Linked DNA regions of Homo sapiens: all the other regions are linked to region 7. The links are contacts of gene promoters, found by promoter capture Hi-C in blood cells and fetal thymus (Javierre and others, 2016). All regions are on one chromosome and are shown on one strand. Each heading gives the region's core, a stretch centred on a gene start or on the middle of the fragment in contact. The rest is flanking DNA. Distances are from core to core; before and after follow the strand shown. Region 1 has its middle 5.2 kb from the start of TAF7. Region 2 holds the start of PCDHB6 (protocadherin beta 6). Region 3 has its middle 2.5 kb from the start of PCDHB12. Region 4 overlaps PCDHB15 (protocadherin beta 15). Region 5 has its middle 15 kb from the start of SLC25A2. Region 6 holds the start of LOC105378199 (a long non-coding RNA gene). Region 7 holds the start of PCDHA5 (protocadherin alpha 5).

Region 1 (2,802 bases), core at 277-2,776, 490 kb after region 7:
GAAAACAGAGCCAAGCATATACAGTAACATTGCCCAAGATAATAGGCAATCTTAAGCAATTAAAACCATTTCCCTGATTCCAACTAACCAGAATGATGCTGCTTCTGTTTTTAAGCACATATCCTCCAGAACACATATATTAGAAAATAGTAGCAAAGAACCTTCCAACTTTTTAATGAAGACCACTGCACTTGACATAGCACCTGACATGATGAAACATCTAAATCACATGCTTCTTAAGAATTAGATTGAATGGCCAGATAGGGTTACCAGAGAAAATAAGGGTTGAGTTGGGCCTTCAGTGACAAAAAGCTATCCATGAGAATATCTGGTGACTATTCCAAGAAAAGAGAACTGTAAGTGCTAAACTGTAGGAGGAAAGAGCTGAGTAAATTTGTTTATGCTGCAGATAAATTTGAAGCAAACCGTTTCTGCTGTAACCTAATTTATAAGCTTTCATTTAGAATTTTTTTTCCCATCTGAATTTGGTTGAAACTGATCTCTAAAATTTCTTAAATTTGAAAACAATTACATTTAGAATAGTTGTTTCCCTATAAACACTTTTTCTAACATTTCAGTCACTCTTTAATTATTTAGTATCTGTTATGGTCCATACCTTAATGGGTTGTAATAGTGGTAAATTTACTTCTGTTGTTTACTTACTATGTTCCAGGCATTGTTCTAAATAAGTCATTTATATGATTCAGCAGCCAGCAGCCAACAGCCCAATAACCCTATGAGGTAGGTAGTATTATTGCCTCCACTTTGGAGATGAGAAAATTGAGGTAAACAGATTGCTACCTGTGCAAGGTCACACAACTAATAGGTAACTGAGCTAGGATACGAACCATGCATGACATGTCTTGATGTTAAGATTTTGATCTTTCTACTATTCTTCAGTAAGTTTACAGTCACTAATGTAGCAAAATATCTCAGTAAATTTAAAGCCAAGCAGGAGATACGAACAAAGGTAATTTACACTTTAGTTATAACAGATACTCATCCCAGTAGACCGTGCAGTGCATGAGTTTATAGACACTAAATGCTTTGTTCATCACTGCATATCCAGTAGCTTGTAGTTTGGTGCGCGCGCACACACACACACACACACACACACACCCCTTGTAGTTTGGCACACACACACACAAAATGTTTGTCAAATAAATGAGAGAGGGAAGAACAAAGTGCAAAGCCGTAATAGGGTTGCTTAACCTAGAGGGAGAAAAGGGTCAGAAAAGCCTTGCTGAAGTCACTTAGGTTGAGACCTGAGGGTTAAGTAGGACTCAGACAAAGGGTAAAGTCATCTAGGTGGAGTGAACTGCTTGTTAAAAGGATCTATGGCCCAGGAGTGGGAGAATGAGTAAGCTCCTTGAAAAAAATGTAAGTTCAGAGTGGACTGACCATATACTGAATGCGGAGCTGAGGCTGAAAAGGTAAATGGAGAACTCATAATCTTGTGCATCTTTTTGAGAAATACAAACCTAGCCCTGAGAGCAATGAGATGTCACTGAAGGGTTTTCAGCATGGTAGTAACACAATCAAATATGTCTCAGAAAAATGAGTTTGGTGGCAGTGAAAACTAAATTGGATGGTAAAGAAGCTATTGCCATTTGATAGATAATAATAATGGCTTGAAATAGGACAGTGGCTGTAAGGATGAAGTAGAGTGAGTGAAGAACTTCTTAAGTAAAATCAAAAGTAGCAAGGGAAAGGGAGAAATGTAAAGTTATGGCTCTAGTGTCCAGCTTCCACAGTTGGGATGTGTGGTGGTGCCATTTATTTTTACTGGAACCCAGAAGGAAAAGCAAATTTTCAAGGAAGAGGAAAAGTTCCATTTTGAACCTGTATTTTTTTTTTTGAGATGGAGTTTTGTTCTGTTGCCCAGGCTGGAGCACAGTAGCATGATCTCGGCTCACTGCAACATCCACCTCCCAGGTTCAAGCTATTCTCCCACCTCACCCTCCCAAGTAGCTGGGATTACAGGTGCCCACCACCATGCCCAGCTAATTTGTTTTGTATTTTTAATAGAGATGGGTTTTGCCATGTTGGCCAGGCTGGTCTTGAACTCCTGACCTCAGGTGATCCACCTGCCTCAGCCTCCCAAGGTGTTGAGATATAGGCATGAGCCACTGCACCCGGCCATTTTGAACATTTACACTTGAGTTGCCTGAGAGATACTTTCAAGTATGTTTCTAGTACACATCTGGCTAAACTAAACCTGAAGCACAGAAGAATCAAGGTTGGAAACGTGGATTTTAGAATCCACTTAGAACTCATAACTGAAACAGGAATAGTGAGATCAATATACTATTTTGTTATTGTATCCAGAATCTTTCCTTTCTGTTATTGATGGAACTGCCACCATTGGTGTTGAGACCTTGGTAAGAATAAACTACTTGATAAATGATCCACTGTAAAGCCAGATATGGTGGGAGCTTTTCAGGTGTCAATCTTCTAAGTGTAGCAAAATACCTAGATTACAAAAACAGTAAATTTTGTCACCTAGCATCCTAAACTGTTTTTTTGTTGTTGTTTAATATATATTATTTGGAAACCTCAAGAAATAATATAAAACCTAGATATTGAGGGAAACCTTGCTTAAGCTTACATATTCTGTGCTAAAATCCTAGTCACGGCCAGGCACGGTGGCCCACGCCTGTAATCCCAGCACTTTGGGAGGCCGAGGCGGGTGGATCACAAGGTCAAGAGATCAAGACCATCCTGGCCAACATGGTGAAACCCCGTCTCTACTAAAATTACAAAAATTAGCTGGGCTTGGTGGCACATGCCTGTAGTCCCAGC
Region 2 (2,712 bases), core at 173-2,672, 330 kb after region 7:
TTGTTGGTTTATTTCATAATTTCATTTTGTTACATTCTCAAGGAACAGTGTGTTCCCAGTAGCATCTATCAAGTGAACCCTGGAGGCTGGTCACATTCATAATCTTTTGTTTTTCTGGCTACATAGAGGTGATTTTGAACTACAAGATCATCTCAGCTATTCAGAGTTTAGATTTTATTTAGCCTTATTTGTTTTGCCTAGCATTTATGTATTTGAAAATATCTTGATTTTTAATCTTCTATCACCTTGGCCCTTACCTGAAGTGAACTTTGTTTGAACTCAATTGATTTCACCTCTCAATAAATATGAAATTAATCTGAAATGAATTGAATTGTTTGGCATATTTTACCTCTTCTATGTGCACTAATCTATTTCACACATTTTCAGTTTGTTTAGAGATACATGTTCCAATGTATCTGAGTAGAAACTAGTGAGATGGGAATGGATATAGCCATAATATTCCATCATTGAATTCCATGGCATTCACTCAAATGTAACTCACCTGTTTTAACAGTACCTTAATTTGGCCTGTATTTATTGGACTTGGTGTTCTTTTTGCTGTGAGAAGACGGTGAAGGTGATTCTTGAATGTTTGTTTTCTGTGTTGCATCATGTTTGTACAACACGGTAATATATTTGGACCTTGATTAAATAATGTAAGAGGGGAATTTGATCAAAAAATAAAATGCACAAGACTGTTAAAACAATGTCTAATTCTATCCATGCAAAAATGGAGTAGAATCCTAAAATGCTTATGACAACTACTTGATTGCTTCTAGTCCCTCTTTTAAATACTTTAATTTACTTAGATACATGTATCATACGTACTTCTTGGCCTCAGTTTTCCTCCTAATAGCCTAATTGTTCTTTTTACTGTGCAGGCATAACTATATAACAAAGTAGGTTTTTTTTTTCATGCCATTTATGAGTCATATAATTTAGATAATTTATTGTTTATTTTACCATTATTGTTGCTAACAAACTTCGTTGTTTTGCATTGTTTGTTGGGACAATTAAATAGTGTACCTCTTGGACTAATAGATTAAATAGTTCATCAGAGATAAATTGCACTGCTGAAGCATCAAAGGAGAAAGACTGAAGTGTAGAATCTGCACTTCAATCTTTCTCCTTAATTAGCACCACCAGGGAATTTGATTCAAGTTCTAGAGGGGAGTGAACCCAGGAATTGGCTTAAAAACAAAAACATACACACAAAAAAACCAACGCTCGCAAGCAATTATTTATGCATGCGGTCCACGCACTCAGTTTGAGAAACACTGACTCGACTTAAAAGTCTTTATAATGCTCAGATTTCTGAAATGCTATTGACCTGAAAACATCTCATGAAGTTATTAGTTTGAACGCGTGGTGGCGGTACAAGCTAAGAGAGTGAATGAAAGCTCTGCAGACTCGGTGGACTCCGTTTCATCCAGAAGCCAAGTAAAAATACAGACCACGTTTACAGCTAAAGCTGAGATAGATGTGTCCGGGAAGGCAGTCGTCGCCAGACAAGTTGTAAGAACGAATTTAAAAATCTCTGCAAAGACATCCGAGAGGGTCGACGGTAGATGTGGTGATTGGGAGCTGAAAAGGATTTTTCTTCCGTATTCAGACATAATAGACATGATGCAAACTAAAGTACAGAACAAGAAAAGGCAAGTGGCTTTCTTCATTTTATTGATGCTTTGGGGAGAGGTGGGTTCTGAATCGATTCAGTATTCCGTATTGGAGGAGACAGAAAGTGGCACGTTTGTGGCCAACTTGACAAAGGACCTGGGACTGAGGGTGGGGGAGCTGGCTTCGCGGGGCGCTCGGGTTGTTTTCAAAGGGAACAGACAACATTTGCAGTTTGATCCACAGACCCATGATTTACTGCTAAATGAAAAACTGGACCGGGAGGAGCTGTGTGGCTCCACTGAGCCGTGTGTGCTACCTTTCCAAGTGTTACTGGAAAACCCCTTGCAGTTTTTTCAGGCTTCCTTGCGAGTCAGAGATATAAATGACCACGCCCCGGAATTCCCTGCCAGAGAAATGCTCCTGAAAATATCAGAAATTACTATGCCAGGAAAGATATTTCCTTTGAAAATGGCACACGATTTAGACACCGGCAGCAACGGCCTTCAGAGGTACACAATCAGCTCCAACCCTCACTTCCACGTTCTCACCCGCAATCGCAGCGAAGGCAGGAAGTTCCCGGAGCTGGTGCTAGACAAACCGTTGGACCGCGAGGAGCAGCCCCAACTCAGGCTAACGCTGATCGCGCTGGATGGCGGGTCTCCGCCCCGGTCAGGGACCTCCGAGATTCAGATCCAGGTTTTGGACATCAATGACAACGTCCCCGAGTTTGCTCAGGAGCTCTATGAAGCACAAGTCCCTGAGAACAACCCCCTCGGCTCTCTGGTTATTACCGTCTCAGCCAGAGATTTAGATGCAGGATCGTTTGGGAAGGTATCTTACGCCCTGTTTCAAGTCGATGACGTCAACCAACCCTTCGAAATAAACGCAATCACAGGAGAAATTCGGCTGAGAAAGGCTTTGGATTTTGAGGAAATTCAGTCTTATGACGTGGATGTTGAGGCTACAGATGGTGGAGGCCTATCAGGAAAATGCTCTTTAGTCGTCAGGGTCCTGGACGTGAATGACAATGCCCCTGAACTCACCATGTCGTTCTTCATCAGCCTCATCCCAGAAAACTTACCAGAGATCACAGTG
Region 3 (2,732 bases), core at 159-2,658, 380 kb after region 7:
TAGTGTGATTAAATTTCCTTTCTTGAGAAACATTTTTCCTAGAACTGAAAATTGTTTTGTACTTACATAATTTTCCATTTACTAATATTAGTTTCTTTACATTCTCTAATTTGAATCTCTTTCTTCTCAAAATATTCAAATATATCAGATACCTGTCAATTATGTTTATTTCTTGGTGATCTTGCACCCAGATCTCTACTTCATTCATACTGGTTGCTCTATAGGCTGTCACCCTAGGACTTTAAAAAATATTTTTCTTTGTTGGTCCTTTTTTATAAGATCCAGTACATTCTTCTTTCTTAGTTTACTCACTTATTTTGTTGATGCACATCTCTCAGTACCTTCATAAAAATGGATACAGAGGAAATAAAACTTTTTGAGAGCTTGCTTTGTTATTTTCTTTTTTTTTATTTGATTGATAGTTTGGGCATAACATTCTAGGTTGAAAATAATTTTCCCTCAGATTTCAAAAGCACTGCTCCTTTTATTGACTGCATATAGAATTGCTGTTCAGAAGACTGATTCCATTCTGATTCCTATGTCTTTTTATGTGATTCCCCCCCTTTTTTTCTTTCTTTCTGTGAGCATTGAAAAAAATTCCCCTGGTCTTCTGAAAATACCTTAGTACTGGCTCTTTATTGATTAATCTGGTTATATCGCTATGCCCTGTTCATGTTTAACTTTTCTTTTTTTTTTAAGATGATGTCTCACTGTGTTACCCAGGCTGGAGTGCAGTGGCTATTCACAGGCACAATCACAGCACCCTGCAAGCTCTAACTCGAGAGCTACTTCTGCCTCAGCCTTCCAAGTTGCTGGGACTACAGGCATGTGCTAGACCCCTTGGCTAATGTTCAGACTATCAATTTTATTTCTGAGAAATTTTGGTTGGGCATGGTGACTCACACCTGCAATCCCAGTACTTTGGGAAGCTGAGGCAGGATTATTTGAGGCCCCGAGTTTGAGACCACCCTGGGCAACATAGTGGGAACCTATCTCTACACAAAAACAATTTGTTAAAAGGAATTTCCTTGGTATGTTTTACTCATAATTTCTCCTCTGAGTTTTCTGGATTCTCACTTCAATGAAAATCTCAGTTAAATATTAGACCTCCTAGATTGACTCTATAAGACTATAAGCCATTTTTCCTTTCTTATTTTCTCTTTGCCTCTCATTCCATTTTTTGGACAATTTATTTAATCACTCAATGTTTTATGTATAAGTTTTTCTTTATGACTGAAAAATATTTACTTTTAAGAGTTGTTTTTGGTTCTCTGAATGTTTTTCATGGCATCCTGTCATAGATTTATAAATGTAATATTTTCTCTCATTTATAATTAATCTTTTCTTTAAAAATGCATTAGGCAGTATCATTATTATATATCCATTTTAAAAGTGAAAGTGAGTCTAAGGGGAGTTAAGAACTTGTCCAAGGTAATATAGCTAGTAAAAAGCACTGAAGTCCTAATCTAGTCTTCATCTTACAATAGGAATATGTACTTCATATAGTTACTATTTAGATTAAGTGGATAAATACATACTTCATACAGCTACTATTTAGATTAAATGGATAAATGCATTATGAGGCACTTAGAACAATGAGTAGCATAGAGTAAATACTAAATAAGTATTAGCTTTTATTAGATTTTCTTTCTCTGGGAATATTAACCAGACATTTTCAAAGGCTTTCTTCTGCTTTCTATATTATTGTTCCTTTTTTTTTTCTTGATGGTAGCGATGGTGGTAGTTTTGGTCTTTCTATGTTATGTTGCAGGCATTTCCTCAAATGCCTTGGCTATCTTCTCGTATTTTAGAAGGATGATATATCAAAATGCTGACAATCAACTCTGTGAGCGAACAGTACCTGTTGATGGCAGGGCTTCATTCTAATATAACCATGCTAGGATAAGTCTATTACCTTATGAGATGCCAAATATTAATATGTGTCTTCATTTGGGCTTTCATATTCTCCAGGTTAGAATTCTACAATATACACTATGGGGATAGACTAGGGGTCAGGCATACACTTTGTGTCCTACAGTCTAAGAGTATTGCATGAAAAGGGATTAGAAGTCTCACCATGCAAAATGCAAAGGTTTGCTTACTCTCCCTATTTTCAGTTTGACACCTCACACTTGTGCTCAGCTGTGCCTAGATCCCCAAGACTAGAGAAAGTCCCATTAAATTTCTCCAGAGAATAAACTTTCTATTTTCTGGCTGTGAGTTATGTTTCCATCTATGTAGGGTGATGAGAAGAACAGAGAATTCAATTATCCTCTACACATACTTCCAACTAATAACTTTTTTCCATCCTTAACTGACTTCAGTCTTCTTAAACATCTGGTTCCTCCAGATCTTGCGCTTAAAAGAGATTATGTTTCTTGTGAGTATCTTCAATGCAGGAACTTTACTTTAGGGGCACTTTTTGGAACTGCTAAGTTAATTGCTCTTCCACCTGCTTTCTGTCATAGAAAAATGTATGTGTTCACTTGTGTATTCTTAATCTTTGTTAGTTCCTACCATTTTAATTACTTTTCTGCCATTTTAGTGCATATTTTTTTTTAAAAAGAGAGGTTAATTGTGTGTGCTCAATTCATCTACTTTTCAAGTTTTACCCTTCTGTACCAATTACTATTTCAACCATGTATCCAGCTTACATTTTTAAGAATATTAATTGAATTTAACATTTTAAAATGCAGACTTGTTGGATTCTTCTCCCATCCATTCTTAGTGCA
Region 4 (2,700 bases), core at 111-2,610, 430 kb after region 7:
AGATACTCTAGAATGGTATTGCATGCAAAATAATGACCGCCAAGATGTTCCTGCCCTAATCCCCAGAACCTATGAATATGTTATATTGCAAAGAAATTAAGGTTCAAACAGAATTAAGGTTGCCAATCAGCTAAACTTAAAATAGGGAGACTCTCCTAGATAATCTGGGTGGGTCTATTTCAATCAGTGGAAAGGCCATAAAAGCAGAGTTGAGTCTTCCGTGAGATGAAAATAAATTTTGTTTAAGGACAGCAGCTTCAGCTTATGCCCCAGAATTCCAGCCTGCCCCTCCTAACTGCCTGCTGTACAGATTTTGGACTTGTCCAGCCACGTTTCAAAACTGAGTAAGTCACTTCCTTGCAATAAATTGATTACTACACATCTGCTGCCTGTTTCTCTGGCTGAACTCCAACTAACACAGATTTTGATACCTGGAAGTGGGGTGCTACTGTAATAAACACTTAAAATGTGCAGATGGCTTCTGAATTGGACAGTGGGCAGAGGCTGGAAGAACTTTGACAGGCATGACAGAAAAAGCCTCGCTTGCTTTGGACAGAGTGTTAGCAGAAATATGGTGTTAACAAATCTGCTAGTAAGGACTCAGAATGAAGTGAGGAGCATGTTGGAGAAACATGTTGCCTTAGAGAATACCACATCACTTTAAATAGATTGTGAGTAGAAATATGGATGTTAAAGTCTCTGCTGGTGAGGGTGCAGAAATGAGGAAAATATTATTGGAAACTGAAGAAAAGGGAATCCTTTTATATGGTGGAAGAAAAATTAGCTGAATTGTGTCCTGTAGTTATGTAGAAAGAATTTTTAAGCAATGAACTTGGGAGATTTCACTGAGATTTTCAGGCAAAGGGTTAAATGTACAGCCTGTTTTTTTCTTGCTGCTTATAGTAAAATGTGAGAGGGAAAAGAATGAGAGGAATTAGATTGAGAGAAGAACTGTGAAGCAAAAAGGAACCCAGACTTGATGGTTGGGGAAATTCTCACCCTATTCAGACTGCAACAGATGTTAAGATCAGGAGATTCACTGCTAAGGATGCATGTTTTGGAGAGAAAGCCACAGACATATCAGGACAACCTTTTACTAGTGCGTTGAAAGAATCAGGTAGTCAATCATACAGAAGGCTCTTTGAAGAGACTAGGTACATGACATGGATATCTTCAGCCACATCAGCAGAAGCCAGGAATATAGACATAATTACTCAGGAAATAACTTCGAAGGAGTCTCTTGTTTAATAAATTGAATCCCTGTGAAATGCACAGGAAATAAGGTTATTGAGAATGTTTAATCAGCAGAAACACTGCCAGCTTGAATTGAAAGGGATAGAGAGAACTAATTAAAGGAGGATGTGGTACCCCCCTCCCCAAACTCTGTAAGCTAGAAATAGACTGATAAAACTGCTTAGCTAAAAACATGTGCCAATTCCAATGAAAAAGGAAGGATGCATCAGAGGATGGAGCCTGAAGTCCAGAGAGTACAGCTCTCAAAACACAGAGGATTAGTCCCAAGCCTTGAAAGCAGGAGTTTCCCTGGATGTATTGCCACATTCATTGGTGCAGGTGATTTTTTTTTTTTTACTTTTACTTTTTTACACAGTTGCCAGACTAGGTTCCAAGTTGTCTACTTAAAATGTATGAGGCATTTGTCAGAGAAGTAATGAGGTAGGAGATCAGCAGGACTTATTCCCCTATCAGAACAGGACAAAATGAAGAAATTGACAGGAACCAGCAGGTGGTGCACAACTGAAGTGAAAAACCCTGCAGGAAGTAGCAGCTGGTGTTGAAGGCAACCTCTAATTGCCCTTACTGCTCATTAGCATAAGAGATTCCCACCAGCCCCATGACAATTTACAAATGTCATGGCAACCCAGAAGTTACTGCCCTTTTCCATGGCAACAACCTGGAAGTTACTGTCCCTTTTTCTAGAAAGTTCTGAATAACCAGCTCCTCAATTTGCATTAACTCACCTCTTAATTTGCATGTAAGTGAAAATAGGTATAAGTGAGTATAAATACAGTTGCCAACAACCCATAAGCTGCTACTGCCAACTCTGGGTGCACTGCAAAATAGTTAGTCCTGCTCAGCAAGGAGCAGTCCCTTTTAATAAAAGATTGCTGTCTAATAACACCTGATTGCCCTTGAATTCTTTTATGTGTAAAGCCAAAAGGCCTCCTGGGATAAGCCCTAATTTGGGGCCTTGCCTGTCTTGAATCAGTCATATTGTTTTCCCTGGGGTGTTATCAAGGGACAGTACTCTGAACTACTGCAATTAAATTTATGCCATCATTCAATCATCTCACAACTGGCAAACATATGCAAATAACTGAATTTTCAAGAAATATTCCTGGCTAGTAGCATCTTCAAAAGCTGACTTTGGAGAACAGAATCAGAAAGTGAACGGATAAATGCGAGGCACGCTTTTACATCTGGACTTAACGGTATCCTGAGCAAGATGACTAAGATGTTTATGCAGCAATCCAGAATACCCTGCCCCCATCACAGGCAATAAGTAGCAAGGCTAAAAATTTTACTTAGTAAAATTGACTAAATATGGATCCTGAAAATATTCATAAGCAGATCAGCAGTCCATGTGTTTTTGTGGATTATGGCTATTTGAAGGATAAGTTCCAATTCTCCTCTATGTCATGCATAGCACCTAGAACAATTTTGAACATGAGTGACAATTCA
Region 5 (2,800 bases), core at 139-2,638, 470 kb after region 7:
GGTCAGATGCCCATGGGAAAGGGGTTATTCTCTGATGGAGCCATCTAAAATTGAGGTGCTGATTGGCTCTATATTTCTGATACAGAGAGATATACAGAGACTGGTTGCATTCCTAATTGCACTTTAGGACTGGGCACATCACAGTGACTGTAACCCCTCTCCCCATTCCTGACAGATCAGACTCTGGACCTCCTCTGGAGAAAGTCCCACTGCTGTAGATTTGTGTTTAGATTTCTGGATTGGTTGCAACTTGCAACAATTGACTTACAGCCTGAATCTACTTCCTTCACCTTTTTACTGGAATATTAAGACAATTTGATTGTTAAATGCAGCTGTCCCCAAAAAGGAACTGCTCTTCTCTGGGATGGTAGGCTGGCCACTGGATAAATGATTGTGACTAAAGGGATAAGAGTCTGTGTAAACTTAATTTGAAAAATCTTAGAAAATTCAGGTCATTGTGACCAATTCCTTACCATGATGTGTCTTTCTGCTTAAGTTGTGTAAAAATGTTTTTCTGTGAAAATGCTTTTTTCCCTCTTGCTTATAACCCTTCTGGATGAAAGGCCCTAGTGAGTAGGAGATGATTGAAAATATAAAGTTATAATTGTGAATGGGACACACTGATTTTGTAACAATGGAGAAACCACACCCAGCCCCTGGGAGGCACAGGGAGAGGTTAGGGTGTTAATGATTTTTGTTTTTCAGAACTGCTCCTGGAAGCTTTACCCCCTTCTTGAAGGAGAAGTCCCCATGCTGGCTTTCCAAGCTGCTGCGAGCACTCTGAATTCAAACAGATTGCTGAGCCCATGGTCACAGGTGACTATGAGACGGCAGAGGAACACTTCCAGATGTCACCCACACTTATGAGATGGATGAAGTGATATTATGCATGAACAAAACTGTTTGGAACTGACTGCCTCAGGCAGTCGTTATGAATCTAAGGACTGACCTGTGTTATTTGGACTGCACTGAGAATCCTGGAGCAGGAGGGCCCACAGTGGAAGGTTACATTAGAGGTCTTCTTAACCTTATTGCCTGACTACTGTATGTCCTGCTTGGGGTGTCCTAACAACTGTAAACTCATTGTTTCCAGGGGTACTGTGTGTGCCCTCTGGGCTTATATTTCTTTTGTGGGTACCCTGACTATCATGACACTGTCTCAGCCCTACAAGGCATTCGGATTAACTTTAACTTACTGGTCAGAGATGTGCTGTGCCTGAGTTGATGCCTTGGGCCAGATTAAAAGAAAAAAAAAGGTTAATATAAAAACTAAAGGAGAAAGACACCTGGCTTTCTAAGATAGACCTTTATGGTTAATGGGATTTTTTGTTTTGTTTTGTTTTTTGAGACAGAGTTTCACTCTTGTTGCCCAGGCTGGAGTGCAATGGCACAATCTTGGCTCACTGCAACCTCTGCCTCCTGGGTTCAAGCAATTCTCCTGCCTCAGCCTCCCGAGTAGCCGGGATTACAGGCATGTGCCACCACACCCGGCTAATTTTTTGTATTTAGTAGAGACGGGGTTTCACCATGTTGGTCAGGCTAGTCTTGAACTCCTGACCTCAGGTGATCCACTCACCTTGGCCTCCCAAAGTGCTGGGATTACAGGCGTGAACCACTGTGCCTGTTCCCAGGATTTGTTTTAATTGGCCAAATCTAGAAGCCATGGAGGACATAACTGAGGCCAATAATGTAGGCTGATCTCACCCTGCCATGTGGGATCCTATTGATAATAATCTTTTTGTAAAAAATGCCTTGGACAATGACCAAGTGGGTAGAAGAAAAGAGTTAATATAACAGACCTGAGACTACTAAGCCGTCGAAGGCCCTGCTTACAAGGTAGGCCCTTGGCTTGCATTTGGGACTTGGATTCTGAGATTGTCTGCATCATTTCATAACTGATAAAAGTGGTTTGCTGTGCCTAAACTGTATATACAAACAACGTGGCTTATGCTGAACACCTGCTTTCCTTCGGGGAATCTGGGATTTTGCTACCTACTAGGCAGAAGAGGCCCACATGACCAGTCCCCAATAAAAACCCTGGATTCCTAGGTTTAGGCAAGCTTGCCTGGTAGATAACACTTTACACCTGTTGGTGCAATTTGATGCTGGAGGATTTAATCATATTCTGTGTGACTCCAATGGGAGAGGATTCTTGGAAGTTTATACCTAGTTTCCTCCAGACTTTATCTGATATACCTTTTCCCCTAGCTGAGTTTGCCTTGTATCCCTTTACTGTAACAAATCATAGCCACGAGTATGACTACATGCTGAGTTTTGTGAGTCTTAGAAAATTACCAAACCTGGGGTCTTGGGACCCTCTGACGCCAAACCTTTGTATTTATTCTCTGACAAATAAGAGAGTAAGACACATTATAGTGGAAACCCTGAAATGTCCCTTTCCCTAGCCAAGATAGTAAATCATAAGTAATGCTGCATCCTAGGAGGATTTTTAGAGATTAACACTACCTCCTGAGGCTTAAAGTGCACAGAGGTGATAGTCCTCATCAAATTCTCATTTAATTCATTTGTTCACCCTCTGCAAAAACTAGATAGATTGTTGTGATGACAATGGACTGCAATATACTTACTTAACCAAATGGTAGCTCCAATTGCAGCTGTCATGCCAGATGTGGTATCTTTATTGGAGTAGATCAGTATAACTTTGGCAACTTGGTAGGTGGCTATTTTTCTGGTGAACGCACTTGTCTTAAATTCCACCAGGGAATAAAATCAAAAGCAGTCATCTTCTCATGATAAGAAAACAGAACACATTCAACTATCTTATTACAAAGCTATGTTA
Region 6 (2,700 bases), core at 19-2,518, 450 kb after region 7:
AACCCTGGGTCACAGGTGTAGCAAGTTGTTCTTGGAACTCAATAGTTCCTGAGTTCCACTTATCCACACATTCCAATGATGCTATAAAAATCTAATTATCTCTGTTAAATATTTTTCTGCTTAAACTGATTAGAGTTGTTTTTGTTATGTGCCCTGAGCCCCAAAAATATATTTTGTACCAGAATTTGCAGGCAACAAACACCGAAGAATGAAATTTAGGATAGATTATATGACCTAGATAGATCAAAGGCAATGATAGTCCCATATCCTCTAGAAAATAAGATATTGGTAGTCCCTGGTAAGCAACAGCAAAACATTTACTCAGGTTATCACTTGTGTTTGTCTGGAATTAATTGCTTATTGAAGGTAATTCTCTGGTAAGCAAAGTGGCTGGTGTACCAAAGCATTATGGTGGGGAAGAGAAAGGTTCAGGGGATGTGGTGATTACTTTTGACTGCAATCGAGAATTCAATTAAAGAAAATAACGAACTTAGGGTTTTAAAATTCTTGGGTCAGGAAAGATATGAAAATCAAATATTTTAATGATTGCTTTAAAAACATCTCTTTTATCCCACGGCTACAGGACTACATAGATAAAAATCAGACAAAAAGTCTGATTCTTCAGGTTGATAAATAATTACAAAGTTGAATTCACAACCACTGCATGTTTTTTAATGAAATTGCTAGAGCATTGATCCAGAAAGAGTAGTATCCTTAGAATGGGAATGGGGACAGCTAGGTGAATTCAGATGTGATTGTATCTTGAATCCCCAAACCAATTGAGCCCTTTTTTATCCCAGCAGAAGCAAACTCATTTTCCTTTTTAATAAGACTGTCCTCTTTGCATGCATAGTCTGTAATGACCTCAGCTGAGACAGTTACATTGCAAAGGGTTGCTAATTTTCTCCATGCCCTTCATTTGCCAACTCTCATTGCCTCTAGACCTCTAATTAGATTCATATCCTAGCATGTTCAATGGGGACAAGCACAAAGCCAGTCCCAATATTAGAAGGCATATATACTGAAAGAATTGCATAATTTTGCTAACTACATCACAGAAACCTTAGGAATATGTTTGAGAACTGAGTATGCTATAACAGAAAACAAAGAAAAAACCTTTAGATTGAGTTGAATTTAGGTGGGTTCGTTTGCCAGAGATTCTGAATTCAGTGTTCAAGCTTTCACATGATTATCTCTAATAGTTCTTTTGGTCAGCTGACTCAATTCAATGACAGCCACAATTTAACAAAGGAAATTAAGATGCTAATAATGCCTTAGGATAATGTTATCCAGCAAAAGGGACTCACTACCTGATATGCTAGAAGCCAATAATATGACACTGCATTTTTGAGAAAAGAAAAGCTTTATATTGAAAGTCTTTGTTATAGCAACAAACACACAAAGGAAAGAAAATGGATTCCCAAGGAGACAGGAGTAAACGTCAAGTGTCTTCCCATGCTGGCTTTCAGGCAGTAATTTTGTTAGAAATGCTTTACGGGGCTGGGCGTGGTGGCTCACGCCTGTAATCCCAACACTTTGGGAGGCCGAGGCGGGTGGATTACCTAAGGTTAGGAGTTTGAGACCAGCCTGGCCAACATGGTGAAACCCTGCCTCTACTAAAAATACAAAAATTAGCCAGGCGTGGTGGCGTGCGCCTGTAATCCCAGCTACTCAGGAGGCTGAGGCAGGAGAATCACTTGAACCCGGGAGGTGGAGGTTGCAATGGGCGGAGATCACACCACGGCACTCCAGCCTGGGCGATTGAGTAAGACTCCGTCTCAAAAAAAAAAAAAAAAAAAGAAACAAAGGAAGAAAAGAAAAAGAAAAGATTTAGGGGGCAGATTCTGAGAGCGGTGATTAGCGGAAGGAAAGGGGAGGCATGGGAAGTCCTTGGGCATGTGCACTTACCTCTTCATGCCTCCGCAAGGGTCTTTGTGCGAATTCGGGGGAGTTAGTATGAAACCTGTGGTGGAAACTCAGGCTGCGATCTCAGCAAGCTCATTCTGTGCAAACTCCATTTATCTATCTAGGTTACAACCGATTTCAGCCAGTTCATTTCTTTTAAGCAGAGGGAGTCTCAGTGTTTCAGCAAGTTGTTTCTTATCTGCCATTATGAAAACTCAAGAATTTCTGTTAGTTACTGGTTTCTTTAACTCTTTGGGGCACAGTTTCAATAGTGTAGAGGAAAAAAAAACAAAAACAAAAAAAAAAAACAAAGACTCAGGAAAATAAATCTCTATTTTTTTTTCTTTTTTCTTTTTTTTTTTTGAGACGGAGTCTGGCTCTTTCGTTTCGCCCAGGCCGGACTGCAATGGCGCTATCTCGGCTCACTGCAAGCTCCGCCTCCCGGGTTCACGCCATTCTCCTGCCTCAGCCTCCCGAGTAGCTGGGAAAATAAATCTCTATTTTTATTCTTGCCCTAGGTATCACAAATGTTAGGGGTGCTCCTGCTCCTCTGAGAGTCATACAAGGTTCTAATTATCTCACCATCCCATAGGACATCACATTTTTCCAGCACGCTAATGGGATCATGCTGATTGTACCTCTTCAATAGCAAGTAACATGTGCCCTAGATGCCTTCGTAAGACGTATGTATGGCAGAAGAGGAGATAAGTAAGCCCCACAACAATTTAAGGAACTGTCCTCTCTGAAGTTTTGGGGGATTCAGAAATCTAGGGCATGTTAAGATATTTCCAAGAA
Region 7 (2,739 bases), core at 215-2,714:
CAGTATGAAAACTATTAGGCAAATAGTCTGGGAAATTGATTTGTGTTTCAACGATCCAAATATTAGTGAAAAGTCATGATAATAGAGATAGTAAAAATCTTATAAGGGAACTGGTAAATATATCTTTAAAGATTGTATCAGAAACAATTCTATGACAATATCTTGTTTCTTTACAAGTTTGAATTCCAGAAATCAAGTGAATTTCCTCTGACTTTGCATTTTCTGGTAATTTCTTTTTTCTTATCAAGCTATATTTTAAATGTAAAAGTATCCAACAATAGAATTGCTAATCTCTTGGTCCCTCTTGTCTTCACAGGTAAGGGATATTTTGTAATATTTAAGGAATTTTATGGAGTATATATACAAGCAGAATGTTAGCTATTTCTTCAATAGAAAACTTGGTGATATTTTCTTTTGCCCATATTTATTAAGTGAAGTTTACTAAATTTTCTAGGTCGTGTTCAAATCATACCATCCAGTAAACAGTTGGGAGATTAAAAAGTAATTAAACTAATATAAAGATAGCCTGGTTAATAAAATGATATTCTTTTCAACATGATTATATTTACTGGAACCTAAACATTTTGTGAAATAGTATGTCATATAGACAATATTAGGATTTTGACTTGTTATGTAAGTACAAAGGTATGTATTTTACAATTTTTAATAATTGCTTTATCAGTAATAGCAACTTGAAGAAATGCTATCTAGATGCTTCTAATTTGAAAATAGTGCAAAGACGATTTACCAAAGTCGTTCTATTATGCTTTTGATTTCTAGAAAGCTGAAATATCCCCATTACAGTTTTTGAGTCAATACAAAAAGTAGATAGGTGTTATAGATAAAGAAATAGGTTTTCATCGATTTGAAAATTAGAACTCCGAGAAGAAACTCAGGTAAGAATGCCATTAAAATAGTTTTAGTTGTTTTTGAAAATAACATCAACAAAATGTCACTATTAAACAGTGAAATTGGAATAAAAATTTGTTTTATGAGTAACACGGAGATAGCATACAAACATTCCATTGACTAATACAGAAAAAACTCAAAAGTTTTAATTAGATATGTTTAAATAGAGATGAGAAAAGTCAAAACTTTAACTCTTAAAAGTTATTTTTATCAGTTTGGAAATATATAAACTCCTCCCTATATAAAATACACCAGCACAAATTTCTCTAGTAAGGATTGGGGTTTCATGACTTTAGATGTATTTTTCTGTAATATTTTAATGACGCACTTATATTGACGCATTTTAAGATAGAGTTTAATGATATATTTTGACTAGAGATAAGTGATTTAAAGAATAAGAATCATGTCATTGAAAGTGAGAATACTTGAGAAATATTGACGAATATAAGCTAAATAAAGCAAAACAAAATAAAACACTTACCCTTTCATCCACATGATGTCGCTGGACACCGGAAGGTTTTTCTCCCTTCCCAGCCTCAAAGGAATACAGTGAGTAGATTTTCCTTAGACAGAAAGGAAAAGAACCTTCCATTTTTGGCTGTGCCAAGAAGCTCAGAAAGGCGATAATATAAAAAATATATAGTTAATTGGGAATTGAATTTACAAAATACATTGTGTGGTGATGCAATAGAAAGCTCATAATTGGAACGAGATTGAGATGGTATATTCCCGGAGAGGAAGTCTGGGATCCCGGCTCCTGCTGCTCTGGCTTCTCCTTGCCTACTGGAAGGCAGGGAGCGGCCAGCTCCACTACTCGATCCCGGAGGAAGCCAAACACGGAACCTTCGTTGGCCGCATCGCGCAGGACCTAGGGCTGGAGCTGGCGGAGCTGGTGCCGCGCCTGTTCCGGGTGGCGTCCAAGGGCCGCGGGGACCTTCTGGAGGTAAATCTGCAGAATGGCATTTTGTTTGTGAATTCTCGGATCGACCGGGAGGAGCTGTGCCGGCGGAGGGCGGAGTGCAGCATCCACCTGGAGGTGATCGTGGACAGGCCGCTGCAGGTTTTCCATGTGGAGGTGGCAGTGAAGGACATCAATGACAATCCGCCCAGGTTCTCCAGACAAGAACAAAGATTATTCATTTTAGAGTCAAGAATGCCAGATTCGCGGTTTCCGCTAGAGGGCGCGTCGGATTTGGATATTGGAGCAAATGCACAATTGAGATACAGGTTAAATCCAAACGAATATTTTGACTTAGATGTTAAAACAAATGAAGAAGAAACGAACTTTTTAGAGCTGGTTTTGAGGAAATCCTTAGATAGAGAAGAAACACAAGAACACCGTTTATTAGTGATTGCAACTGATGGAGGAAAACCCGAACTAACAGGTACAGTTCAGTTGTTGATCAATGTATTGGATGCTAATGATAACGCCCCAGAATTTGATAAATCCATTTATAATGTCAGATTGTTGGAAAATGCACCAAGTGGGACATTAGTTATTAAACTGAACGCCTCAGATGCAGATGAGGGCATCAATAAGGAAATAGTGTATTTCTTTAGTAATCTTGTTCTTGACGATGTAAAGTCCAAATTTATAATTAATTCTAATACTGGTGAAATAAAAGTTAACGGGGAACTGGATTATGAAGACTATAACTCATATGAAATTAATATTGATGCCATGGATAAAAGTACATTCCCATTATCAGGACACTGTAAAGTAGTAGTGAAACTCCTGGATGTGAATGATAATACCCCAGAGATGGCCATAACCACCCTTTTCCTGCCTGTCAAAGAGGACGCTCCACTCAGCACGGTCATTGCTCTGAT

What was found. Contacts are between HindIII fragments. The CHiCAGO score rates a contact against its expected background, and 5 or more counts as called.
Region 1: a fragment that was not itself captured here is called in contact with the fragment with the promoter of PCDHA5 in region 7 in 4 of 17 cell types (M2 macrophages, M1 macrophages, erythroblasts and 1 more); the score reaches 13.1 in M2 macrophages.
Region 2: the fragment with the promoter of PCDHB6 here is called in contact with the fragment with the promoter of PCDHA5 in region 7 in 5 of 17 cell types (M1 macrophages, M2 macrophages, erythroblasts and 2 more); the score reaches 10.3 in M1 macrophages.
Region 3: a fragment that was not itself captured here is called in contact with the fragment with the promoter of PCDHA5 in region 7 in 5 of 17 cell types (M2 macrophages, erythroblasts, M1 macrophages and 2 more); the score reaches 7.0 in M2 macrophages.
Region 4: a fragment that was not itself captured here is called in contact with the fragment with the promoter of PCDHA5 in region 7 in 7 of 17 cell types (fetal thymus, M0 macrophages, M2 macrophages and 4 more); the score reaches 10.1 in fetal thymus.
Region 5: a fragment that was not itself captured here is called in contact with the fragment with the promoter of PCDHA5 in region 7 in 4 of 17 cell types (M1 macrophages, M0 macrophages, M2 macrophages and 1 more); the score reaches 7.6 in M1 macrophages.
Region 6: a fragment that was not itself captured here is called in contact with the fragment with the promoter of PCDHA5 in region 7 in 9 of 17 cell types (M0 macrophages, erythroblasts, monocytes and 6 more); the score reaches 9.3 in M0 macrophages.

What each region holds. Positions count from the first base shown.
Region 1 is chr5:141,314,181-141,316,982 of GRCh38, forward strand. No RefSeq gene overlaps it. Among named protein-coding and RNA genes, the nearest start is that of TAF7, 5.2 kb to the right of the region's middle. The HindIII fragment of the contact is 2,150 bases long and covers 452-2,601 here.
Region 2 is chr5:141,148,635-141,151,346 of GRCh38, forward strand. PCDHB6 (protocadherin beta 6) reads left to right here and starts at 1,423. Exons shown (of 1, transcript NM_018939.4): 1 at 1,423-2,712. The coding sequence starts at 1,624. It also overlaps PCDHB@. The HindIII fragment of the contact is 6,099 bases long and covers 1-2,712 here.
Region 3 is chr5:141,204,860-141,207,591 of GRCh38, forward strand. It overlaps PCDHB@. Among named protein-coding and RNA genes, the nearest start is that of PCDHB12, 2.5 kb to the right of the region's middle. The HindIII fragment of the contact is 2,869 bases long and covers 1-2,732 here.
Region 4 is chr5:141,248,985-141,251,684 of GRCh38, forward strand. PCDHB15 (protocadherin beta 15) reads left to right here. Exons shown (of 1, transcript NM_018935.4): 1 at 1-381. It also overlaps PCDHB@. Among named protein-coding and RNA genes, the nearest start is that of PCDHB15, 4.9 kb to the left of the region's middle. The HindIII fragment of the contact is 3,908 bases long and covers 1-2,700 here.
Region 5 is chr5:141,287,768-141,290,567 of GRCh38, forward strand. No RefSeq gene overlaps it. Among named protein-coding and RNA genes, the nearest start is that of SLC25A2, 15 kb to the right of the region's middle. The HindIII fragment of the contact is 1,340 bases long and covers 719-2,058 here.
Region 6 is chr5:141,266,561-141,269,260 of GRCh38, forward strand. It overlaps LOC105378199 (a long non-coding RNA gene), which reads right to left and starts at 2,198. Exons shown (of 2, transcript XR_001742473.1): 1 at 1,909-2,198. The HindIII fragment of the contact is 184 bases long and covers 1,177-1,360 here.
Region 7 is chr5:140,820,149-140,822,887 of GRCh38, forward strand. It overlaps PCDHA5 (protocadherin alpha 5), which reads left to right and starts at 1,465. Exons shown (of 4, transcript NM_018908.3): 1 at 1,465-2,739. The coding sequence starts at 1,628. All of the region lies in intron 1 of PCDHA1 (protocadherin alpha 1), which reads left to right. All of the region lies in intron 1 of PCDHA2 (protocadherin alpha 2), which reads left to right. All of the region lies in intron 1 of PCDHA3 (protocadherin alpha 3), which reads left to right. It also overlaps PCDHA4 and PCDHA@. The HindIII fragment of the contact is 13,774 bases long and covers 1-2,739 here.